Linked DNA regions of Homo sapiens: regions 1 and 3 are each linked to region 2. The links are contacts of gene promoters, found by promoter capture Hi-C in blood cells and fetal thymus (Javierre and others, 2016). All regions are on one chromosome and are shown on one strand. The core of a region is centred on a gene start or on the middle of the fragment in contact, and the rest is flanking DNA. Distances in the headings are between cores, read along the strand shown.

Region 1 (3,396 bases), core at 331-2,830, 280 kb after region 2:
TGGTTCCAAATCTTAACTCCAACTCTAAGCTGTGCGAACTTAGAAAATTTTAGTATCTTCTTTGAATCCCAGTTCTACATTGATAATGCAGAAATATATTAATACTGTTTTGAAAATTGAATGAAGTTATGTGTGAAAAGCATATGATATTTGATATGGTTTGGCTCTGTGTTCCCACCCAAATCTCATATCGAATTGTAATTTCCAATGTTGTTGGCCGACTTCCCCTTTGCTGATCTCGTGATAGTGAGTTCTCACAAGATCTGATTGTTTAAAAGTGTGTAGCACTTCCCTCTTCATGCTCTCTCTTTTGCTCTGTCATGGTAAGATGTGCTTGCTTCCCCTTTGCCTTCCACCATATTGTAAGTTTCCTGGGGGCCTCCCAGCCATGCTTCCAGTATAGCCTGCAGAACTGTGAATCAATGAAACTCTTTTCTTCATAAATTACCCAGTCTCAGGTAGTTTTTTATAGTAGTGTGAGAATGGACTAAAACACCAGGCACGGTGGCTCACACCTGTAATCCCAGCACTTTGGGAGGCTGAGGCGGGCGGATGACAAGGTCAGCAGATCGAGACTATCCTGGCTAACATGGTGAAACCCTGTCTCTACTTAAAAAAAAATACAGAACATTAGCCAGGCGTGGTGGCAGGCACCTGTAGTCCCAACTACTCGGGAGGCTGAGGCAGGAGAATGGAGTGAACCCAGGAGGCGGAGGTTGCAGTGAACTGAGATTGTGCCATTGCACTCCAGCCTGGGTGAGAGAGCGAGACTCTCTCTCAAAAAAAAAAGAGAATGGACTAATACAATATTCATCTATTCTTCATTAATTTATCCAACATGTCAGGAGGTCATGAGAGAACTGGATAAGAAGAAATTGAAATTTAATGCAAGTTAAAGGATTTCTCTTTCTTTCTTTCTTTCTTTTTCTTTCTTTCTTCTTTCTTCTCTCTCCCTCCCCTCCCCTCCCCTCCCCTCCCTCCCTCCATCCCTCCCTCCCTCCCTCCCTCCCTTCCTCCCTTCCTTCCTTCATTCCTTCCTTCCTTCCTTCCTTCCTTCTTTCTTTCTCTCCCTCTCTCCCTCCTTCCCTCCTTGCCTTTCTTCTTTCTTTTCTGCTTGCAGGCCCTATCCGGAGAGTTTCCAGGAAGAAGTAGCTCTATAAATTTCCTCACAACCTCAATCAACATTTGAGTTGAGATTCACAATTAAAATTGGAGTCAAAGGATTGAATCTGGAAAAGCCATTTAACTATATGGGCTGTATTTTTAAAAATTTGCCCAATGAGAGGAGATTTAATGATTTTCAAAATCCCTCTGTACTTGATATTTTGTGAATTAAATTTTCCATAAGCCAAATGTCAGATAAATCACTTTCCACTTCATCTACTGGAGACATTACCCCCATTAGGCTCCATTCTCATAATTATCTTACTTCTACTGGATTTTCTCCTCAGCCTGGTAAAGATTTTCAAACCTTTACTATCTTAATGAAAAACAAGACAAATAATATTCTTCGAAAAGCCTCAACATGCACTCAAGTGTTTTCTTTTTTTTTGGCTATCACTTTATATTTCATCTTCCCTTTTAGTCAAGCCTCTGAGTAGAATAGTCATTTAGTCAGCTATCCCTGGCAGCCCCTGGTAAACAAGTCAGCATGCTAGGCATTGTGCCTCTTTCTTGGTTGTAGGAGGGCCAAATGCAGCAACTCATCCTTCACCTTAAAAGGAGTATCTCAACAGGCCCCTTGCCACTGGACCCCTAGAAATTTTACTGAGATAGAAGTTCCCTGAATTTTAGTCAGATTTATTTCCCATCCTCTAGCATGCAAATGTCTCAACCAATAAGTCCAGTGTGTTTGCTACTTCTTGCTCCCCTGGTGATATTGTTCTCGGGTATATATTTGGAAAATATATGAACCCCACTTGTCTTTAAGGAGCAGTGAATAGGACATATTGTGTGGTCATCTACTTCTTTATGTTTGAATTTTGTATAAGTGTGTATATTTGAACAATCAAGTAAGTAATTAGGACAGATAAGGAAATTAAATCAGTGGAGATATACGAGTTGCTGTATAGATGATGTAGGAATATGCTAATTGTGTAGTGCTGAAGAACACCTATGTTGAAAAAAAAGATATGTATCTTAGGAATATGTTTTTCAATTCTTTTCCTGTGCTTAACAAATTGTGATGGTTAATTCTGAGTGTCAACTTGATAAGAATGAAGGATACAAAGTGTGGGTGTATCTGTGAGAGATGTTGCCTGGAGCTTCCAAGGTCAGTAATATACCTTTACTGTCCTACCTCAGGGGTATATCAACTTTGTGTCATAATCTTATTCTAAGAGACCTGGATCACCTTTTGCTTCTGCAAGATATCACACTGGTCCATTACATTGATGACATTATGCTGATTGGATCCAGTGAGCTAGAAGTAGCAAACACACTGGACTTATTGGTGAGACATTTGCATGCTAGAGGATGGGAAATAAATCTGACTAAAATTCAGGGAACTTCTACTTCAGTAAAATTTCTAGGGGTCCAGTGGCAAGAGGCCTGCTGAGGTATTCCTTTTAAGGTGAAGGATGAGTTGCTGCATTTGGCCCTCCTACAACCAAGAAAGAGGCACAATGCCTAGTGGGCCTATTTGGACTTTGGAGGCAACATATTCTTCATTTGACTGTGTTATTCCAGCCCATTTACTGAGTGACCCAAAAGGCTGCCAGTTTTGAGTGGGGTCCAGAACAGAAGAAGGCTCTGCAACAGGTCCAGGCTGCTGTGCAAACAGCCCTGCCACTTGGGCCATATGACCCAGCAGATCCAATGGTGCTTGAGGTGTCAGTGGCAGATAGGGATGCTGTTTGGAGCCTCTGGCAGGCCCCCATAGGTGAATCACAGCAGAAGCCTCTAGGATTTTGGAACAAGACCCTGCCATCTTCTGCAGATAACAGCTCTCCTTTTGAGAGACAGCTCTTGGCCTGTTACTGGGCTTTGGTGGAGACTGAACGTTTGACTATGGGTCATCAAGTCACCATGAGACCTGAACCGCCTATCATGAACTGAGTGCTTTCTGAACCATCTAGCCATAAAGTGGGTCATGCACAGCAGCATTCCATCATCAAATGGAAGTGGCATATACATGATCGGGCTCGAGCAGGTCCTGAAGGTGCAAGTAAGTTACATGAGGAAGTGACTCGAATGCTTATGGTCTCCACTACTGCCACCTTGCCTTCTCTCCCCCAGCCTGCACCGATGGCCTCATGGGGAGTTCCCTATGATCAGTTGACAGAGGAGGAGAAGACTAGGACCTGGTTCACAGATGGTTCTGCATGATATGCAAGCACCACCTAAAAGTGGACAGCTGCAGCACTACAGCCCCTTTCTAGGACATCCCTGAAGGAC
Region 2 (3,397 bases), core at 146-2,645:
ATTCTGTAAGTCGCTCGACAGAATGCAATATTAGGCGTGTGTATGCGCAAGTTTTAATTTTCCACTGGTGCTCCCACGTGAAGGCACATTTCTTAGTAAATGAACGGCAGCTAGGACAGTGCATATGTATGCATTTTCTATCTTTATTTTTTTTTTGTAAATGGGAAAGAATAGTGCACCTTCAACATGGACAACAGAATCTTGAGAAATGTTCTAGGTGGCAAGAAAAGTGGGAAATGAAGGATGACTTTTAGTTAAGGGAAGAAGGAAATCTGCAGTGAGCCAACCCTTCCCTCCCCCCCGCCCCCCCATTTCGGAAGCCCATGCTGTCGCCCTGAGTAATCTTGTTCCTGTCTATTAATGAATTAAGTTAAAAGGCTTAGACTGTAGACTTTAGCTACTGCATGAAGCAAAATAGTAAGGAAGCTCTTCAAAAAGCCTCCATTCATAGATAACCCCCCTTAAAAATGAAATTCTAATAAACGGAAAAACTACAAGTCGACACAATCAAAAGCAAATCCCAGCAAGAGCAGAAGGTACTTGAAACTCGAATCTGCATTCCGTTCCTCCCGTACAAGGCTCGGAGGTGGGGGAGGCGGTTTGTGCTGGTGCCTGGTGTATAATCGGGTTAATCCAGTAGACAAAGAATAAACCAATAGCCCTCCCACCTCACTTCCCGCTCCCCTTCCCCTCCCCCTTCTTCTCCCCCCGCCCCAGCCCCCGTCACCCGCTCCGCAAAGGGGAACAGAAAAGGGGAGAGGTAGACTTGAAATGGATTCTGGATAAAGTCTTAAAACCTGCAACTTGTTTTTCATGCTAACACTGCGTGGCCCAGATTAGTCTTAAATGTTCATTCCCCTTTCCTGGTGGCAAGGAGAAAGTTCCCTAAGTCAGCTCGAGCCTCTGGCTCGTCCTCATTGCCTCTGGGCAAACCTTAAGGTCAGTGTTTCCTTGAAACTAGATAAACTGACCCTGCAGTGCCCAGCCCGGCCCCGCGGGCGCCCCGCGTGACGGCGCTCGGGCGGCAGGACCGGCCTGGGGACGCGCGGGGCGGCGCGGTTGCCCTTTTGAATGCCTCCTGCGGCTCGGAGCGCTGGCGGGCGCTGGAGTGTGAGTGAATGTAGCCCCGCGGAGCCAATGAGCTGGGACCGGATGCGATATATCCTCTGGGACAACAACTGCTCTGTTCCGCCTCGGATCCACATGACGCCATTTACTGCTGCCGCGGCCGCCGCAGAGCTCCCTGCCTCCTCCGGAAAGGCGAGGGCGCAGGCCAACGGCGAGCCCCCCCCGGGCGGGCCCCAGACCCTCCTCCTCCTCCTCCTCCTCCTCTTCCTCCTCCTCCGCACCCACCGCCCCCGCCTCGGCCTCGCTGCCTCGCCTCCACAACGCCCAGTCTGCACCGCCGAGAGCTGCGCGCCGCAGCGCTAGCGGAGGAGAGGGGCCGGCGGAGCGCGCAGCGCCCAGGCCCCCGCGCCCGCCCGGCCCGGCCCGGCCCGCGCCCCCGCGCCGCCTCCGCTACGACGCGGCCCCGGCCGCACCACTTGGCGATCTGGCTTTAGGTTCTCCGTAAGGCCGTTTTCTTTTCCCATTCGCTCATCTGCCAGGAAAAGGGACTTGCCGTTGGCGCTTCGGCCTCTTGTTCATTGAGAAAAAAGAGGAAATACTCCGCGTGCGCTTGTAGAAGGGGAGTCGTCTCCAGCTCCGAACCCCGGAGTGTTCATCAGCGGGGAATCTGGCTCCGAATTCTCTTTTTTTCTCCCGCCGATTGCTCGGAAGTTGGTCTAAAGCAGAGGTTGGAAAGAAAGGAAAAAAGTTTGCATCGAGACTGGATTTATTTGCACATCGCAGAAAGAAGAGAATCCAAGGGAGAGGGGTTGGTGCAAAGCCGCGATCACGGTGAGGCACGTTTGGCTCTTCCCCTCCTGGCGCCGCGGCCGGCGCGTTGTGGGCAACATGGAGTAGGTGCAGCCGGACCAGGAGTTGGGTCCGTCTCTCCCCGAGCCTCCCTTTCTCAAATCCCGCAGGGTCTTCGCGAGGATCCGGGGCGCTCCCCGCGGACCTGCCTCGCCCGGGGCTTGGGCTCGGCCTGCCTCTGCGGGGACTTCTGTATGCACCCCGTGCAGTGTCCCCGACAGGCGACCCCGCGCGCCCGCGCTCTAGGGGGTTGGGACGGAGGACAGCTAGCCTGAAGTCTGCTCCCAGCCGTGCACTGGCCGCGAATTCGGCGCTGAGAGCGGGAGAGGGAGAGAAAAACACTTTGTATTTTCCAGGTTGCCTTTGCAGGCGCCCGCATTTCTAACCTGTTCTTCCTCTTGGTGGAAGGCAAAGTCCAGGGAGAGGCTGTCCCTAGGCGGGGCGCTGGTGGGGCTGGGGGACACAGGTTGCCCGCCTCGGGGGCAGGAGACTTCCAGGGTGAGAAAAAGGCAGGGTGCCGGGTGGAGGGAGTGCCCGCCTCTGCTCCGTGTGGACAGTCTAGCCCGGAGCGGGTGGGAGCGTCGCCCTGCCTGGCGCCGGGTCTCTGCGGTTCGGAAGTGCAGCTCTCTCTCTTCCGTTCTTCGTGGTCAGCCTGGGTCACACTTATTTTATTTTTGGAAGCTCGGGCTGACCCAGCGCAGGAAGAAAGTCATCAAGCGGTCGCGATCATTTTCCATTACCTGAAAGTAGGTGGCAAAATAGGCAATTTTTTATTTCCTTTTGTTGTTGTTGTTGCTGTGTTTTAATTTGGATTCTTGTGTGTTTTTTACAAAGCAGTTTCTGTGTCCGTTTGCCCCACCCTAGAGCTGAAGTTCTTTTCCCCTAATCCTCAGTCTGATCACACACTGTTCTTAATGGGGGTTTCAAAGCACTTTCAAAGGGGAGGGGGGACTGGGAAAGAGAAGAGGGGCGGAGGTAGGGAGTCCAGCTTTGAAGAAGGAGGCCAGGGATCGGATCGGCAGAAATCACTTAAAAAATAAAAACAAAAAAGCCCCCTTTTATTTCAAAGATGCTACTTTGACTGCAAGCAAATCTGCACCGAAAGTTTACAGCTCCGGGAGCTGGGTCCTGCGCGCCCGGAGTGAGCAGTGGGACCCTGGAAAATGCCCTTTTTTTAAAAAGCCATTTTTCTTTCACTTTAAGAAATATGATATCTTTTTTTTTTCTCTCGACCCAAAAGGAGATAGGCGTGTGCAGATTACAGGCAATGCCCCCTTCGGTCAGTGCAGCGTGGAGTCGCCGTGTGTGCGTGGGTTGGACTTGTGCGTCCTGGCTGCGTGTCTCAGGCAGGGCTTTCGTGCTCGCAGTGTCGGGGTGGGAAACCTGTGCCGGATGTCCGAGGGGCTTTGCAGAAAGCCTGGCAGTGGGCGGCGTGACCTCTGCCTGGGGGCGGAGTGGCTCCTTGGGGCTGGAAGGCAGT
Region 3 (3,733 bases), core at 620-3,119, 280 kb before region 2:
ACTCTATCCCCCAGGCTGAAGTGCAGTGGCACGATCTCAGCTCACTGTAATCTCTGCCTCCCAGGTTCAAGCGAGTCTCTTGCCTCAGCCTCCTGAGTAGCTGGGATTTTGGGTGCTCTCCACCACGCCCGGCTTATTTTTGTATTTTTAGTAGAGACAGAGTTTCACCATGTTGCCCAGGCTGGTCTTGAACTCCTGACCTCAAATGTTCCACCCGCCTTGGCCTCCCAAAGTGGAAAACTTAAAGTTTTTAAAGACTCCCTTTTATCACTTCTCAGATGATCTTTACACACTGATAATGACTGGGAGAAAGACAATTTGGGTACCTGGTAACAATTGTTTTGAGAGGTAAGGTGGTAGGCTAAATGTGGGAGACACAGTCAGTGTACCAAGAATAGTAAGAACACAACCCACTCAACAAATTCCAAAAATATATATGTATTTTTTTAATCGGGTAGATAAATTCATCATTAAAGGAAAACTTTCTTCCCACAGTAAGCAGAATCCCCTTCAATATTCCCAAGAAAAGAATCCAGGCCTAGGGATGACATACTCATCCAGGCCAATTCTAGACTCACTGCATGTCATGGTAGTAAATGCAGTACAAGCTCACATGTACAGGGAATACAAATATTTCATCAGTTTCTTTCTGTTGAATTAAAAATAATCTTAGCTCTTCAGAAATATGCATATTTATAACTTTGTTGAAAGTGTTAAGAACAGACTATTCTTTTCATCTATTTAAATCTGAGCCTCAACTTTCTTAAAAATTTGCAGTAATTATTTCTAGGAAATATATTCTTAAATAATAATACATTAAAAATTTTTATAATTATTATTTCCTCTCCTGATACATTCATTCATTTTATTAAAAGGACGCAATCGTGAAAGAGGACAAAAAAGCCTAATCCCAAGATTTTCTGAGAGCAGGGAGCCTGATCTCTTTGAGATGAACGAGCTGTCCCTAAAATCAACATTGTAAATGACATCTTTCCTTTTCTTCCACTTTCTAGCAGAAGGATTCTAACTCTGAAATGCTAGGTTGTGTCCTGGTGATTCTGTTGCTGGTGATTCTTGCAGATATCAAAAAGGGGCCCTACAGTCAGAGTTGAGCCTATTCAGAAACAATGCTTTGAATTTGTGGAAAATAGAAAGAGACTGCCTACCAAGACCCTATTATTTGCATGATTAAACGGAACATTTTTATAAATACTGATATGTATATTTGTGTGTGTGTGTATATATATATATATATGGCTTTATTATGATCTGTTTTCCTTTTTGCAGTGTTTGTCATCTTAATTATGATTTAGATAAATAAAAAGCAGTGATAATAAATACTAACATTTCTTAAGCACTTGCTGCCATACACTATTTTAAGTACACAACAGGTGATATTTAATTGTCACTACTACCATATACAATAGTTGCAATATTACCTCTATTTTACCGATGAGCAATCTGATTCATTAGCTTGGCCAAATTTCATTGGTCAGGAATGGCAGAACTGCAGTGGACATTCAAGCATGACAAACCCTGGAGTATCTCTTCAAAACTTTCTTTTCTCTTTTTTCTACTACCCTCATAGACCCACCATTATTCGTTCATTCATTTTTGTTTGTCATCGTTTTTTGGAATCTATTTTCCCCACTGTTACTTAAGAGAACCTCGGGCACAGGAAGCCAAATAATACAGGATTTACAATACCAAAAGTGTTGCATTACATTTTACTTTTTGATAGTTAAAAGTTTTCAAGCTTTCTACTGGTGAATGCCATGGAGAAAGCATCTCTAAATCTCTTCTCCTGCTGCCATCATGTCTAAGTCAGAGTCTCCTAAAGAGCCTAAACAGCTGAGGAAACTCTTCATCTGTTTGAAGGTTGCGCTTTAAAACAACCAATGAGTCTGAGAAGCCATTCTGAGCAATGGAGAATGCTTACTGGACTGTACAGCAATAAGTGATCCAAATGCTCGGGAAGCTTTGGGTTTGTCACATATGCCACTGTGGTGGAGGTGGGTGGAAGTGGATGCAGCTTGAATGCAAGGACACACAGGTGGATGAAGGAGTTGTGGAACCAAACAGGGTTGTCTCAAGAGAAGATTCTCAAACACCAGGGGCCTGCTTAACTGTAAAAAAAGATCTTTATTGGTGGCATTAAAGAAGACACTGAAAAATAATGCCTAAGTAATTATTTTGAACAGTATGTAAACATTAAAGTGATTGAAATCATAACTGTCTGAGGCAATGGCAAGAAGAGGGGCTCTGCTTCTGTAACCTCTGATGACCATGCCTACATGGATAAGACTGTCATTTGGAAATACTATCCTTTGAATGGCCACAACTGTGAAGTAAAAAAGTTCTGTCTGAACAAGAAATGGCTGGTGCTTTATCCAGCCAAAGAGGTTAAAGTAGTTCTGGAAGCTTTGGCTGAAGTTGTGGAGGTAATTCCGATGGGGATGACAACTTGAGTCATGGAGGAAGCCACAGTGGTTGAGGAGGTTTTGGTAGCAATCATGGTGGTGGTGGATACAGTGACAGTGGGCATGGCTATAATGGAATTGATAATGATGGGAGCAGTTTGAGACGTGGTTGAAACTACAAGGATTTTGGCAATTACAATAAGCAATCCTTAAATTTTGAAGCCACGAGGGGAGAAAACTTTGGAGGCAGAAGCTCTAGACCCTTTAATGGTGGAAGTCAACACTTTGCCCAACCACAAAACCATAGTGGCTACAATGATGGTTCCAATAGCAGCAGTAGTTATGACAGTGGCAGAAGGTTTTAATTTCTGCCAGGAAACAAAGTTTAGTGGAGAAAAGAGCCAGAGAAGTGACAGGAAAGTTACAGTTTACAACAGATTTGTGAATTCAGCCAAGCCCTGTGGTGGCAGGACATAGCTGCTACAAGACATGCCTTAGACAATACTCATGTGTATGGGCAAAAGACTCAAGAACTAAATTTGTAACTAATTGCATAACAGGTTATTTTAGTTTCTGCTTTGTGGAAAACATACGGCATTCCAACAAAATGTTTAATGTAGATTTTTTTTTGCACCCATGCTGCTGATTGCTAAACATAATAGGCTAATGGTGACACTGAAAAAATGTCTTTTTAAAAAAAAGCTTTCAAAAGCAAATTTTCCTTTAACGTACATACCACCTTAAAGGTTTGGCATCTACCTCCTAATTTTCCTCAGTGCCATTGTCTTAGTTTGTTTTACTATAAAGGAATACCTGAGGGTGGGTAGTCTATAAAAGAAAATAATGTATTTGGCTCATGATCCGGATGTCTGCAAAAGTTCAAGATTGGGCATCTGCACCTGGCAAGGGCCAAAGGCTGCTTCCACTCATGGCAGAAGGTGAAGGGGAGATGGCGTGTGCAGAGATCACATGGTGAGAGAGAAGCAAGGGCAAGAGGGAAGGTGCCTGACTCCTTTTATCAACCAGCTCTTCTGGAAACTAATAGAGTGAGAGTGAGATCTCACTCATGTGACCTCCCCCAGGAAGGGGATTAATCTATTCACGAGGGAGCTGCCTTCATGACCCAAATACCTCCCATTAGTCCCCATTTCTAACATTACAGATCAAATTTCAACATGAGGTTTCAGGGGACAAATATCCAAACTACAGGAGTCATAATTTGGAGAGACCCCCAAATAATGTAGATGACTCTTCTAAGACCTAATGGCTTTAGAGTTTGCTGATTGTCCCAACTGAAAAGGCTTGATTTTCAC

What was found. Contacts are between HindIII fragments. The CHiCAGO score rates a contact against its expected background, and 5 or more counts as called.
Region 1: a fragment that was not itself captured here is called in contact with the fragment with the promoter of SPRY2 in region 2 in 1 of 17 cell types (M2 macrophages); the score reaches 5.6 in M2 macrophages.
Region 3: a contact is called between a fragment that was not itself captured here and the fragment with the promoter of SPRY2 in region 2, in 1 of 17 cell types (naive B cells). The highest score is 5.1, in naive B cells.

The regions. Positions count from the first base shown.
Region 1 is chr13:80,064,204-80,067,599 of GRCh38, reverse strand. No RefSeq gene overlaps it. Among named protein-coding and RNA genes, the nearest start is that of LINC01080, 55 kb to the right of the region's middle. The HindIII fragment of the contact is 8,120 bases long and covers 1-3,396 here.
Region 2 is chr13:80,339,124-80,342,520 of GRCh38, reverse strand. SPRY2 (sprouty RTK signaling antagonist 2) reads left to right here and starts at 1,395. Exons shown (of 2, transcript NM_005842.4): 1 at 1,395-1,899. RefSeq lists silencers at 978-1,027, 1,258-1,447. The HindIII fragment of the contact is 9,098 bases long and covers 1-3,397 here.
Region 3 is chr13:80,618,150-80,621,882 of GRCh38, reverse strand. It overlaps the pseudogene HNRNPA1P31. Among named protein-coding and RNA genes, the nearest start is that of SPRY2, 280 kb to the right of the region's middle. The HindIII fragment of the contact is 222 bases long and covers 1,759-1,980 here.